Regions from separate parts of the Homo sapiens genome. Here regions 2, 3, 4 and 5 are each linked to region 1. The links are contacts of gene promoters, found by promoter capture Hi-C in blood cells and fetal thymus (Javierre and others, 2016). All regions are on one chromosome and are shown on one strand. Each heading gives the region's core, a stretch centred on a gene start or on the middle of the fragment in contact. The rest is flanking DNA. Distances are from core to core; before and after follow the strand shown.

Region 1 (2,700 bases), core at 102-2,601:
TTTAGTAGAGACGGGGTTTCGCCATGTTGGCCAAGCTGGTCTCGAACTCCTGACCTCAGGTGATCCACCCGCCCCAGCCACCCAAAGTGCTGGGATTACAGGCGCGACCCACCATGCCCGGCCGATTTCCTCATTCATTAATTCACATATCTCGTCTATTAAATGTGTAATACATTGACAATAATCTATTTCACTGCTGCCTTCTAAATTTTCCTTCTGGGCTGGGCGCGGTGGCTCACGCCTGTAATCCCAGCACTTTGGGAGGCCGAGGAGGGCGGATCACGAGGTCAGGAGATCGAGACCACGGCGAAACCCCGTCTCTACTAAAAATACAAAACATTAGCTGGGCGCAGTGGCGGGCGCCTGTAGTCCCAGCTACTCGGGAGGCTGAGGCAGGAGAATGGCGTGAATCCAGAAGGCGGAGCTTGCAGTGAGCCGAGATCGTGCCACTGCACTCCAGCCTGGGCGACAAAGCGAGACTCCGTTTCAAAAAAAAAAAAAATTTTTTTCCTTCTGAGCTCACCTTTATTTCGTACCAAGGGCTTGAGAATTAGATTCGGTTCAAATGGTTTTCAAATTCTAGGTAAAGTACTTCGTCTGCGAACATTAAAATTGTTAAGCAACAATAAAAGGGCCTCTCAGATTGATTTTTTTCACTAACACTAATTTTTCTTAATTTGTTTGTGACGTGCGCTGTATGTAAAAAGTGACGACACTCCTTTCCGTGTGTTTTCAAACACCAAGCAAGTCTGCTGTGCTCCAGGGCGTTTCGCCCTTTGCCAGGTCGCTGTCCCCATTCGCCCCCTCTGAGAGCCTCCATTTCTCAAGGCAATCCCTGTGACACAAACTTTTTACTTTACCAAGATATAAAAGAACCTTGCTTGTTTATTTTAGGCGTCACTCTTCCCCATGATTGTCTCTCACGGTTGAGCGGCGCTGACCTGATGACACCTGCTCACTGCGTTTTCGTTAAACTCAGCATTTTCACGTAGCCAAGACAGGCGATTCCCAGGCTGGATGGGACCTTACTGTAACTGCACGACTCCGCACAAGTCGCTTTGAAAACCAATCTGCAGACGTTTGCTTGTTCTCCAGACAGAAACTCTGACCCCACACTCACCCTTCCCACCCTAATTCTCGCTCGAAGATTGAAGAGCCTGTGAACTGTCTCCCTAACGCTATCCAGGACAGGCCCAAGACGGGAACTGGACCTTGCGCGCCTAGGACTCCGGCGCCGCCACGTCTGTCGGCGTGCGTGACGCCAGCGCGCTTGCGCGCACGGAGACCCGCCCCCTACATCCGGGGCCTGGGCGGCAGCAGGGCCGCCGCGGGGAGGTCACGTGGCTCCTTCCTTTCCGTCTCTGGCCGGCTGGGCGCGGGCGACTGCTGGCGAGGCGCGTGGGACCTTACGCTGGTTCCCCTTCGTCTCCTCTCCCGGCCCGGGCCACTAGAGAGTTCGCTGACGCCGGGTGAGCTGAGCCTGCCGCCAAGATGCCGGCCTATTTTCAGAGGCCGGAAAATGCCCTCAAACGCGCCAACGGTGAGTAGCTGATCGGGGCGCGCCGGGCTGGGGCGGCCCGAGGCCTCCGAGGTCGAGAGCGCGGGCCTGCTTCCCACTGCTCCGCCGCCCGGCCCGCGCGGGGAGAGGAGACCGATGCGGCCTGCCCGCCGCTGTCCCAGCCGGTGGTTGGGCATGGGTTTCCTTCTCACTCTATCGACTGGGGTCTGGGAGGCGCGTAGCCCGGAACCGTCGCCCCAGGGGCCTTTCCTTCCCCCTGCCGCCTCCGGGTGCGTCGCGGGGACCGCAGCCCGGGAGACAGCCCCTACCCGGACTGGAGCTCCCTCCTTGCTGCCTGCGTCCTCTGGCTCTCCAGGTCCCTGGGGCTTTGGTCTGCTTAGGGCCCGCGTCCCCGGCCGCCATCTGGGAGTGCCGGGGAGTAAGAAACATGGCTCCCTCCCGGGGACAATGCACGCGAGAGCCTCGGCTCCACCTCCTGCCCGGGCCGGGAGCCCTACGGACCCACCCCCGGCCTTCCCGCAGCCACCCCCGCTCTCCAAGCCGCGCTCAGTGCTTTGCTGGGTCGGCGTCCACTTACCCTTTACCCAGCTGCTTTATATCCACTTAGGGGCCTCTGACCCATTTAACCTGATTCCTGTTGTTTTGTTTTGTTTTTGTTTTTTCATTTTTCCTGGCATTGATTAGAAGCAGTCCTAAAGCCTGTTTCGAATCACTGGAAGTTGGAATAGAGTTAATGTAAAGGGACTTCAGGTCGCCTCTTAAAGATAACGAAACAGGCCTAGAGAGAGGTTTCCCCAAGGTCACTCCGGGAGTTGTTGAGCCAAGAGACTTAAAACCAACGTCTCTTGACATCCAGATCAGTCCTTTTTTCTCTTTTTTTCTGCCACAGTGCTGCTGTCTGCGATTTCTATTTCTATATGTGTACTTCAGCCATTGGCGCTTGAGGGAAAAACTTGTGTGCCCCGATCTCTCCAAGGCATTTATTACATTGGCGTTCTGGGGATGCACATGTTCTTGGCTAGGCTCTGGGCTTAAGAAACTTTGTGTAGGGTTTTTTTTTTCCCCTCTAACCGGACAATTTTTCTAATCGTTAGGGCATGGATAGCTCTTATTTTCATCCTTCCTTCACCGAAATAGAAGTTTCGGGTTTTACCCATGTTGTAGATGAATATACCTTGTGA
Region 2 (2,700 bases), core at 176-2,675, 510 kb before region 1:
ATTGGGGGTGGGCCCGGGGGTGGGCCCCGCGGGCCCTGAGGAATTAGCACTCACCCCTTCCACGTCCTCAGCTCGAGTCGCTCCCAGCTCTTCTCCCCAGCTAAGCTCTCGGAGGAAGCAGGACACTCTTTCACCACTCAAGCCCCTTCTCTCTTTATGCCCCACGTGCCCCCGCCCACGCTGTCAGAAACACCCGCCTAGCGCCCGCTACTTTTGAAGTACATAAGGGATACCTTTTGCTGCCCGAGCATCTTTCCCTTCTTGGATAAAGAAGTTTACTTTGAGCGCTCCCTACGCTAAACTGACAACCAGTTGTTAAACTCCTTTTGCTCTCTAGGTGTTGCCTCTTCCTAATCTGTTTGTGCGTCGAAAGCTTCAGAGTTGGCTAAAATTATGTCTTCATCCGCTATTTGATGTGTGTCTTCTGAACGCTTTTTCTCCTGTCTTGCTGTTGCTTTTTACCTGAAGCTCAATCTAATGAATGAATTCCATCTTCCAACCACTTAATTCTGGTTTCCTTCCTTTCCAATGAAGAGTGATGACTCAGCATTTGCATTCCTTTCTGAATAGTGTGGCACTCCTTTTCTCTGCATCTTTTTTTTTTTTTTTAAGTCTGAATACTTTTTAATTAAATGTTTAAATTGGGCACCCTAATTTCCCGGCCTCTCCAGGTCTAGCACTCCTACCTTGAGTACCAAGGAGTCAGATCGCTGCTTTGTTTCTCTTGCCTCTCCTGGTATTGATAGGATCATAGTCCACTTGGCTCTGCTCTCTGATGGGGAAATTGCTTTTTAGGGAATAGATGAAGGTGGAGGGGCACTCGAGAAGTTTGACTAGCTTCACATCTCTTCACTCCTACCAAAGAAAGGATGCTCAGTAAAGAAGATAGATGTTCAGTATTGATAGAGATTTTTTTGGTGTGGCCTTGTACAGGAATAAATGTGTTCTCTAACGTCTCACTGAAGTATCCGTCCCGTTTTGAGAATCTGAGGCCTACTGAAGCACATCCAATGCTTCAATGAAACGCCTGCTTAATAGAACGTCTTTGTGTTTTGTGTTGTCTTCCATTTCTGCCTTCTCTCCCTAGAAGAAAGAATTGGGACACACTTGAAATTTGTCCTTCAGGCCGGGCGCAGTGGCTCACGCCTGTAATCCCAGCACTTTGGGAGGCCGAGGTGGGCGGATCACGAGGTCAAGAGATCGAGACCTTCCTGGCCAACACGGTGAAACTCCGTCTCTACAAAAAACACAAAAATTAGCTGGGCGTGGTGGCGCGCGCCTGTAGTCCCTGCTACTTGGGAGGCTGAGGCAGGAGAATCACTTGAACCCAGGAGGCAGAGGTTGCAGTGAGCCGAGATTGCACCACTGCACTCCAGACTGGTGACAGAGCGAGAGTTCGTCTAAACAATTAAAAAAAAAATTTTATCCTTCAACATCTGTTGAAGCCAAGACTTGGTGTTGAGTTACAATGTGTACTTTGATATAAGCATCTGGGAAAGCTAGGCTTAAAGACTAGCTAACATGTATTTAACAAAGATAAAAGTTACATTGTATCTAAAAATCTGAAGTATCATCACACACTGAATGATTGATAAATACTCATGGCAGGGGTCTCATTTACTGTATCTGTTCCTTACCAAGAGGAATCTCTGGTTTTGTAGTGCTAAAGAATGTGCTTTTTTGATGTCTTTTATTTATCTTTGCATCTGCCTTGCCTTCATCCCTATCAGAGTTTCTCCAGGGGAATAATAAGCTAACTTCTTTGTCACTTATTTCCTTCCTCTACCTTCTCTAATCTCTTGTTCTTTCTTTGAAACAGTTAAGTTGTCTATGTTTACAGTTCTCTAAAACTGTGACATGTTCATATGAATAAATAAACATCTTAACTCTGTTGTTTTGTATGTCAGTACGTGTTTACTATTCTGTCTTCCTTTTTCCTTCTCCCACCCTTTTCCATAGGGCCTTTTTTTTTTTTTAAGAGAAGGACTACTACATCTTCCTAGGTCTTACCCCCACAGCACTTAGTTCACTGCCTGGAACATAAGAGGTACTCAGAATTTCTACAGTGATTATACTTCTTTCATTAAATTAGTATTAAGTTCTTTTTTAAAAGTCCTGGTTGAACTAAGATTGTAGGCAGACATTACTGTCACATGTGGTGCAGTCTGTTGACTTTTATATATTTTTTAAAACCTTCAAATGTAAAATCTTGAGATAAAAGCAAATGTTTAACAATTGGGATTTTTATTAGAGTTTAATACAAATAATGCATAGTTTTTCTAAGTGTACGTTTTACATATTCTCAAAGGGTTCTATTAGATATAAGTAACATGATGAAAACTGAACATGATTTTAGACGTTGATATCTAGTAGGGTTTTTTGTTTATGGAGATCTTATATTTTACATTGTGAGCTATGGATTAGGTTTTTCAAGTGGCCAGTATGTTTTAAAAGAATGTGTTCTTAACAAAGCTTATCTTAAATTGTTTCCTTAAGATGCCTGTGTGTTACTAGTGAGGTTTTTTTCCTGCAGACACACACAAGCTAAGACATATGGTTCTATCTTCAGAAAACAATATGGTGTTTAGAGCCTAGGTAGGTCTTTAAATATTCATTACCTACAGTATTACTAATTTATTTGATGGTATTTAAAGTGGCAAGAATTGCTTTGATGTTGAGCCTAAATTTCTATTTGTCATA
Region 3 (2,700 bases), core at 118-2,617, 510 kb after region 1:
ACAGCTTTATAATCAGCAAGTCCCGCTGTGGAGGAATTTCTTTTTCTTTTTCTTTTTTTTTTTTTGAGATGGAGTCTCACTCTGTCACCCAGGCTGGAGTGCAGTTGCGCGATCTCAGCTCACTGCAACCTCCGCCTCCTGGGTTCAAGTGATTCTCCTGCCTCAGCCTCTTACAATTTCTTGATCTCAATAATTCCAAGAAAGTCAGGCAATGGCCTCGGATCAGAGCCATGTGTTCAAGGCCAGTAAGGCAGCAGTATCTAGTCTGGCCCATGTGTTGACTGAGAACAGAGAAGCAGCAACTCAAATCACCACATTTCACAGCCATCTGAAAAGTTCATAGCCGGGTGCCCAGACAACTCCAGAAGTCCATCTTACGGCCTGTTTACACAGACCAGAGTCTGGTTTGAAGGACAATTAGATTGTGGTGGGTAGTGGGGAGCTGCCTAGGAACACTTGCTTCCCCTCCAGATATTAAAAAGGAAAACCGAAACAAACCCCCAAATCCTCGTGGAGTGAGACGATCACTTTCAGCTCGCAAAGTGTAGGCCCCAAACTATGTGAGCCTTGATCACCACCTTGTGGCAAAGAGTGGAATTTTTCTAGGATGGACTTTTAACTTTTCACTTTTTTTTTTTTTTTTTTTTCTCTGAGACGGAGTTTTGCTCTTTCACCCAGGCTGGAGTGAAGTGGCACGATCTCGGCTCACTGCAACCTCCACCTCCCAGGTTCAAGCAATTCTTCTGCCTCAGCCTCCCTAGTAGCTGGGATTATAGGCACCCACCACCATGCCAGGCTAATTTTTGTATTTTTAGTAGAGATGGGTTTTTACCATGTTGGCCAGGCTGGTCTTGAACTCCTGACCTCGGGTGATCCACCTGCCTCGGCCTCCCAAAATGCTAGGATTACAGGTGTGAGCCACCGTGCCCGGCCTGGACTTTTTCCCGGGAAAATGCTTCAGCTGTGGGAAGGAAGGAACAAAGGGAGGGAGGGAGAGAGAGAGGACTCATTAGATGCCGTTGCACGGCCTGTCCTATGGAGAACCATTTAGTCTCCTCAACTGTGGCAAGAACGTAACCAGAATAACTCATGAATTAGATAGTAGACTAGCACTGGGCCTAGCGGGACTCCATGCCGGGGACACAGAAGTCACACATTACCCACCATGTGGAGAACCTGCTAGGCCGCAGATGCAAGCTCAGCTTCCACCTGTGGTGAGAACCAGCTCCAGTCCTTGTAGGAGTGGAAAGCCCAGATAATACAATGTGACCTGGCAAGCACTGTTTCAGAATATGAGAAGTGTCCCATGGGGGCCCTGGAGAGGGAGGCACTGTCTCTTCCCACAGACCCTGCAGGCCAGCTCAGAGCAGGCACGCCATAAATGCTTGACGAAGGAATGTCGGTGGTTTCTCCTAGATTCCCCATTTTCCATTCTGTTTCTTCCGACGGACATATTCCCAGGGCTAAAATTAATCTCTGACACATTTCCAACTTTCTTGACATAGGTATTTCCTCTGTCACTGCTGGCCTACAGTTTGTCTTCCTATCCAGGATTTTAGGACCAATACTTCCCCTAGCCAATGACAAAGATTCTTTGCTTGGCCAAACTTCAGTCAGCCTCCTGCACCTTCTCTTAGGCCCACCTCTGTGCACTTCTTGTAAAATCCAGCTTTAGCAAGAGTCCTGCTAAGTCAGGTTAGCTAGACCCCTCCACTCCCAGCTGTCATTCTCCATTTCTGATCACTCTCGATATCTGGTCGGGTTCCTCATCTTTTACCACTGCCCTGGGGAGGTCTGATCTTCCTGGCCTGTCTTCAGCAAGAATCCCCTTGGCCCCTAATGTTTCCTCTTAGCCATTTCCACCCGCTGACCCCCACGCTGCTCCTTTGCTCCAACACTCCACCTGCCCTTGCAAGTGGGAGTTGAGCCCGGTTCTCTATTCTCCCTATTGCAATAGTCCTGAGTAAAATCGGTTTTTACCCCTTAACTGATGTCCAGCTCAGGTTTTTGACTCCAGCGCTTGTCCCATCAATGAAGAACTCATTGTCTATACAGTGCCTGACTGCACACTCTAGACTCAGAAGGCACAGCTTCAAATAGGACCCTCCACCCTGAGCCTGTGTTCATGGAACTGAAGTCGTTTTCACCACATCATCTTACACACACGAGCCAGGAGAGCAGACTGGCCAGCAGAGCCAGGTTCCCTGGAGCCCTGCAAAGCCCACAAACACCCGAGCTGTGGGGTGGCTTTGCAGCTTCTCTACCAGCCACCCCACCACAGGGCAGGACTCAGGCATGCTGAGGGCCCAGACTTGGTTGTGACCTCATCATCTCTGCCAGCATCTTGGTCTCCTTCAGCTGGCGGAGACCTGACCAGATTAAGGGGACCCCAGGCCCTAGCCTTCTCCCTGGAGTGTGTGGAAACATGCCTGCTCTCACCCACGATCGCCTTGTGCCACTCCCATTTGGGCGTTAGAGTCTCTCAGTGTCTCACTTTGTCAGCTGTTTCATTTGTACAAAATACAACAGGGAACAGCCTGGGTCATAGTAGAGGAATCATTAATTATGTAAACAACTCCATATTTGGGAGCCAGTGCCAGACGCTAAGCCCTGGGGATAGAGCAGTGAACTGAACCTGGGAGGTGGAGGTTGCAGTGATCTGAGATCACACCATTGCACTCCAGCCTGAGTGACAGAGTG
Region 4 (2,700 bases), core at 96-2,595, 750 kb before region 1:
ATGGCCAGGAAACTGAGTAGACTCCTGTGTAACCCTGTTTGGAACTTTGCCTTCTTAAAATGATTTTTCAAAGATCTCTTTCGAACTAATTTCTGTAGAGTTTAAACGTGTATTTTATCACCTAATGTTGGGTTGTATTTTCTCCCATGTTGGGAACCCTTAATATTTTCAGGACCCGGAAGAAAAGTTGGTAGAAGCAAGCATTCAGTTTTGAATGTTTGGATTTAAAGTATAGTTTCTGATCCATTTCCCTTTTTACATCATGAGTATATTTCAAAGGAGTAACATACTGGCAACAGCTAGACCAAGTGTTCAGTTATAGCAAATCTGCCGTTTACAAATTCTTTAATCTGTTATGCAAGGAATTCTCATACCCATTTGTCACTTTAAATTACAATGGTACTTTATTTTAATAATCACAAGATTTAACACGTAAAAAAAAAAGATAGCACTAATAAATAACAAAAGTGGAATGCTTATCAAAGTAACGACATAATGTTCAGTTGAGAATCAGTCACTTCAACAGAGTAAAGCTCTAAAGACACCAGACGAACCAATACTTGTTGGAATATGCCATACAACTTTCTTACTGTGGGGATTACAGGGGCAGCCCTGGTTCTGTGTGGTCAGAGTTATAGTCAGACAGATTCAGCACAATTGTGTTTCAGACTAAATTGTTTTTGAGACACGGTCTTGCTCTGTCCCCCAGGCTGGAGGTCAGTGGCACGATCACAGCTCACTGCAGCCTCAATCTCATGGGCTCAAGCAATCCTCCTGCGTAGCTAGAAACACAGGCATGCACCACTATGCCCAGCTAATTTTTGTATTTTTTTGTAGAGACAGATGTTTCCCAGGCTGGTCTCAAAACTCCTGGCCTCCCAAAGTGTTGGGATTATAGGTGTGAGCCACTGCACTAGGCCCAGACTAAATTTTGAAGTTGTGGATCATCTACATAAGATGTCGAGGATGCCCCTCCTGGAATAAATTAAAACCTGACTGACTTCTAGAATTTCCAGTAGCCAATATGGGTGTTCTTACATTCCTGAAAACAGCAAAATGAAACCTAATAGGTGCTGGTATTCACCTCTGATGTATCAGGTTTACTGTGTGACAAGTCTTAATGCTCCTAGGTTTACATTGTATAGGCAGCAGAGTATTTTTAATGTGTTCAAGTAGAATACGGGGAAAATTAGGATCAAATGAGAATTCATTTCTCTAGTGTCAATAACCCTCAACTCCTCAGGGAACAGTTAAGCCATCAAAACTAAAATAGCTTTATATTCAAATGCTTCAGTAACATGTTAAAGTCACTAAAAACTAAATGTGTAATTTACTTTGTAGAGGTAAGAACACACAGGAATGAACTGACAAACAGAACAAATTATGAAAAACGCTAATCCCCTAAGCATCTGCATGTCCAGCCCTTGTGTCTACTGTAGTCTACCCACCCCACTCCAAAAAAAGGTTCAGGTTATATCCCAAAGTGACCTGTTGCTGAATTACTTTCAAATAAGCAAAGTGCTCTGTAGTGTATAAGCTACTCAGGTCTACACATTCTAGAATGATGCACTTCTGTAGTCCTGGCTGTAAAATTTGGAAATCTACTCAGGTTCCGACTCCGTTTAAAACCCTTTCCAATGAACAGAATTTGTGATCCCTGGGTTCAGACAGTACAATTAAAATACCCCAAGAGGTGAAAATTTCATATTTTTAAATAAAAGCCATGGAAGGATTCTTATGGCTAAAAGCTAAATCTGAATTATCCGTGTCTGGCATTGTATAAACATCTTTTTAAGTTCATTTTGCTGGACTTGATTAATGATTTCAGGTTCTGGAGGACTCTTCTGAACTTTTGACACTGCAAAGTTTATCCCATGGGTTAATCCAGCTTGGGTAATACTAGCAACCTGGACCATGGAACTTCGAATCTTGGCAAAGGGAGAGACTGCTCTGCTGCTACTGCTCTCTGAAGGAGAAGGAGTTACATGAAGCCCTGTCTCAAGTTCAAGCATGCTGGAAGCGGAGGTGGGGGTTTTTTGAGATGCAACTGAATGCGCTGGCTCAACTGACAAAAACTGTGGGCCTGTTGCAGAAAGAGAGACATCTAATTGCGATGGCCGAGAAGGTGTCTGTTCTGTTGATTCTGATTGGGTTTCATTTGAAACTTGATTGGTCATTTGATTTCTTTCCTGACTAGCCTGCTGAGACACAGATCTGGTCTCTGATAGGTGGGTCACTTTGTTCTGTGCATCTTGCACAAATCTGTGGCAGTAAATATCCATAGGCTTGGCAAAGCCAGTCAATATGTGTACGTCGCCAGCAGAAGGACTTTTCTTCAAAGGAGACTCCTGGCCTTTTCCAAGCCCACTCCCATGAGCAACAGTAATCTCTGAAGGAGCATGAACGCTACTATCTGTGCTGCTAAGAGACTGGGACCGACTGCCCAATCGAGGCGCTGAGGCAATAATACCACAACTAGGAAGAACGTAATCTATTGGCCCTACACTCTCTAATGAGTTAGCTAGCTGCCTGTCTTCATCAGACTTAGAATTTGTAAGGAATTCATCAGAGTGGTATGAGTCATTATCTGAAGACATGTCCCCATCAGACTCTGCCTGAACCTTATCCATCACTCCTGTGTTTTCCATAGTTTCAAGACTACTATCTGATTTCCAAAGATTTACTTTTAAGTTTGGTTTT
Region 5 (2,700 bases), core at 102-2,601, 570 kb before region 1:
TTTAGAGATAAGGTTACCAAAAGCACCCACTCATATCTGGCACATATATATATATATGTGTGTGTGTTGACAGACAGAAAAATACTACATTCATTCCTCTCCCCCCAAATTCTTCCTAAGCTTTTGCAAGCTGCCTGGCTTCCTAAAAGGCTGCCAAGGTCCCAAAGATACCTTCATCGAAATACGTGACGACTTAGTAACACCAGATACCTCACATGGTATCACATGTGCCACATGATGCATACAGATGAATCCTGCACCTGCAAAACAAGGGGCTCTGGAGCCTGCCTCAGACGGCCGGCTGATGGGCATGGTGGCGCTCACCTATAATCCTAGCTACTTGGGAGGCTGAGGCAGGAGAATCGCTTGAACCCAGGAGACGGAGGTTGCAGTGAGCCAAGATCGCACTACGGCACCCCAGCCTGGGAGACAAAGTGCGACTCCGTCTCAAAAAAAAAAAAAAAAAAAAGAAGGCCAGCTGAGTCTATGCTCTGAGGCAGAAGCAGATCAGAGGTGTCTACTTGACTCACAACAAAAGGGAACCCAGGAGGGGCTGGAGAATAACACGGTCAAGTGTGACACAGGGTTCACTCGTGTTCGCCAGTGCCAGAGGGTCTCAAAGATCCTAATAAGCAAGGCCTTTGTCTTCAGTTTCTTCTGTAAGCTCTCTTAAACATTTAAGAGCAATATTAAAACAGCAAAACTTAAAGGAGAAAGAGTAGGTCTGGATGATGAATGGTTTTCTACTTTGGATGATAAACATCAGAACATCATTTTTAAATGTCAATAGAAAGTAATAAACATGTAGAGTGGTTTATATAAGGTGACTGTGTGTCATTCCAGAAACGAGGACAGCACTAAGCAAGCCTCATGGGTGGTATGAAGCTTTCTGACTCACAAGCAGCCCTGATAGCATCCAACAGTTAAGCCTTCCCAGCCCTGGCCAACGTCAAACGCTGCCGCAGGTCCTGTGTACAGGCTCCACCCTCATAAAGGGCAAATCTACCCTACAAAACGGGACAAATGATGTTCTCGGAGGTGCAGTCGGTTCTCATGTGAACAACACAGGCTGTTCTTCAGAGGGGAAAATGAAAGTCCTGGATGAGCTGGGCTCCAAGGCATCTGGCCATGCTGTTCATCTGCCCCCCAACAAATCACTTTCATGCAGTCGCACAGGAACTTGCTCAGCCACAACTGCAACTTGCTGGAAATACGAAGGAGAGAACGGCCACTCATTTCCTGATTGTGCTCCGCCTCTGCTAAGAGGCATAACAGCTTGCAATAGATCTGGAAAGAGCAAAACGATCTCATCTTTAAGAAAATTCAGGAGGCTCTGCTGAACCTTAAGCAAAATAAATGGGTCTCTCTACTTCAATCATAACTCGAAACATTTCCAGTGTTATCTGAAAGGATGTTTCTATCTCCCTGTCACAGTGCCTGAGTATAATCTGTTAAATGATTATGGTGAGATTCTGCCAGATGGGCAAGACAAAAAGAAAAGGCTCTGGCTTGCTTCTTCCTGGGGTCCAGGAAGATCTCTGGACCACCTCCCCACTCTCGCACTGCCAGCCACCCTGCCAGACTTTGCAAGGTGCTGTCTCGGCTCGCTTCCCATGTCATCCCCATATTCACACCTCCAGAAGCCCGCGTACCTGGGGAGTTTCCCCAAGAAGGAAAATGGAGGCTTGGGAAAATGCTCTGCAGGATAGATGTTCAGGAGGCACTAAGCCGCAGCTCCTCCTCCCCAAAATGGGATCACTGGCCATCCGTGGCTCCCACTGCCAGTGCAGCAGAATCAGAACCACCAAAAAAGCTTTCTGGACTTAATAGTTTTCTGGGCCCTACACTGAGCAATTCAGATTTGAACATGGGGTTGGGGCAGGGAGGCGATGAGACACAGCCACAATCTGTGTTCTTAACAGGACTCCCTGGAGAGTGCCAGACTGGTAACCCCCAAGATCCATGGAGCTAGAGCGGCCCTGCTCCATGAGGGAGGAAGGTCTCCCTCTCATCCCAAGGAGGCCTGGCGGGAACAGCACTCCAGAACATCCGGCCTCTGTTTATTCAGGGAGGAGCCTGGAGGAGTGGCTGCACCAGCACTGAATGCCATCCTCTGCCAGGAAAGGGCCTGGACTGGTATGAACTTGCCAAATTAGTGGGAAGCCCAAGTGTGCAGAAAATCAAAATCCAGGAAGACTGCAGGTGGGGAGGCCCAGCTGCTTAGAATGGGGCTGGATGAAGCCCAGCATCTTTGCCGGGAGCCGTCCTGCTTCAGCAATGACAGAAGATACTTGCTTTCGCTCTGCCCCTCTGTGAAAACAGGGAGTTGTCCTAACTACTTCAGGAGAAGGCGGAAGATCAACTGCAAGACGGCAGTAGAAGACGAAATAAAATACAAAGGTCTAGTCTTTTCTTTCCATTTTCTTACTAACGTGATTAAATTTTAAACATCCTGAAGCTGAGTCCTCCCCCAAAAGAGAGGTCGTCTCTTGAGCTCCTCATGCTCAATGAACAGCTTTTTACTGATTGACAGCATTTCCTCTTGAAGATGATGATGCTCAGACGGGCCTCAGCTCAGCTCCTCCAAAATCGCCCTTTGTTTTCTGCAAGGGCCTTTTTCTCATTATGCATTGAGAAGCCAATTTCAAATACAAAATGATATTCAAGGATTTTCCACTACATTTAGTCTCCAGTAAGGTG

Evidence for each region. The method cuts DNA at HindIII sites, captures the fragments that hold promoters and counts their contacts. A CHiCAGO score of 5 or more calls a contact.
Region 2: a fragment that was not itself captured here is called in contact with the fragment with the promoter of EIF3A in region 1 in 16 of 17 cell types (fetal thymus, erythroblasts, non-activated CD4 T cells and 13 more); the score reaches 16.3 in fetal thymus.
Region 3: a contact is called between a fragment that was not itself captured here and the fragment with the promoter of EIF3A in region 1, in 1 of 17 cell types (M1 macrophages). The highest score is 6.2, in M1 macrophages.
Region 4: a fragment that was not itself captured here is called in contact with the fragment with the promoter of EIF3A in region 1 in 1 of 17 cell types (fetal thymus); the score reaches 5.9 in fetal thymus.
Region 5: a contact is called between a fragment that was not itself captured here and the fragment with the promoter of EIF3A in region 1, in 1 of 17 cell types (fetal thymus). The highest score is 5.6, in fetal thymus.

Annotation. Positions count from the first base shown.
Region 1 is chr10:119,079,468-119,082,167 of GRCh38, reverse strand. EIF3A (eukaryotic translation initiation factor 3 subunit A) reads left to right here and starts at 1,351. Exons shown (of 22, transcript NM_003750.4): 1 at 1,351-1,540. The coding sequence starts at 1,492. RefSeq lists enhancers at 1,137-1,431, 859-1,621 and a silencer at 1,627-1,886. The HindIII fragment of the contact is 5,277 bases long and covers 1-2,700 here.
Region 2 is chr10:119,593,347-119,596,046 of GRCh38, reverse strand. The region is part of intron 1 of TIAL1 (TIA1 cytotoxic granule associated RNA binding protein like 1); the gene reads left to right. It overlaps LOC105378512 (a long non-coding RNA gene), which reads right to left and starts at 483. Exons shown (of 2, transcript XR_946358.3): 1 at 55-483. RefSeq lists a silencer at 1-70. The HindIII fragment of the contact is 2,099 bases long and covers 376-2,474 here.
Region 3 is chr10:118,566,352-118,569,051 of GRCh38, reverse strand. No RefSeq gene overlaps it. Among named protein-coding and RNA genes, the nearest start is that of PRLHR, 28 kb to the left of the region's middle. The HindIII fragment of the contact is 5,456 bases long and covers 1-2,700 here.
Region 4 is chr10:119,826,829-119,829,528 of GRCh38, reverse strand. It overlaps INPP5F (inositol polyphosphate-5-phosphatase F), which reads right to left. Exons shown (of 20, transcript NM_014937.4): 20 at 382-2,700. The coding sequence ends at 1,749. MCMBP (minichromosome maintenance complex binding protein) reads left to right here. Exons shown (of 16, transcript NM_001256378.2): 16 at 1-89. Among named protein-coding and RNA genes, the nearest start is that of MCMBP, 45 kb to the left of the region's middle. The HindIII fragment of the contact is 7,246 bases long and covers 1-2,700 here.
Region 5 is chr10:119,654,148-119,656,847 of GRCh38, reverse strand. All of the region lies in intron 1 of BAG3 (BAG cochaperone 3), which reads right to left. Among named protein-coding and RNA genes, the nearest start is that of BAG3, 4.1 kb to the right of the region's middle. The HindIII fragment of the contact is 928 bases long and covers 888-1,815 here.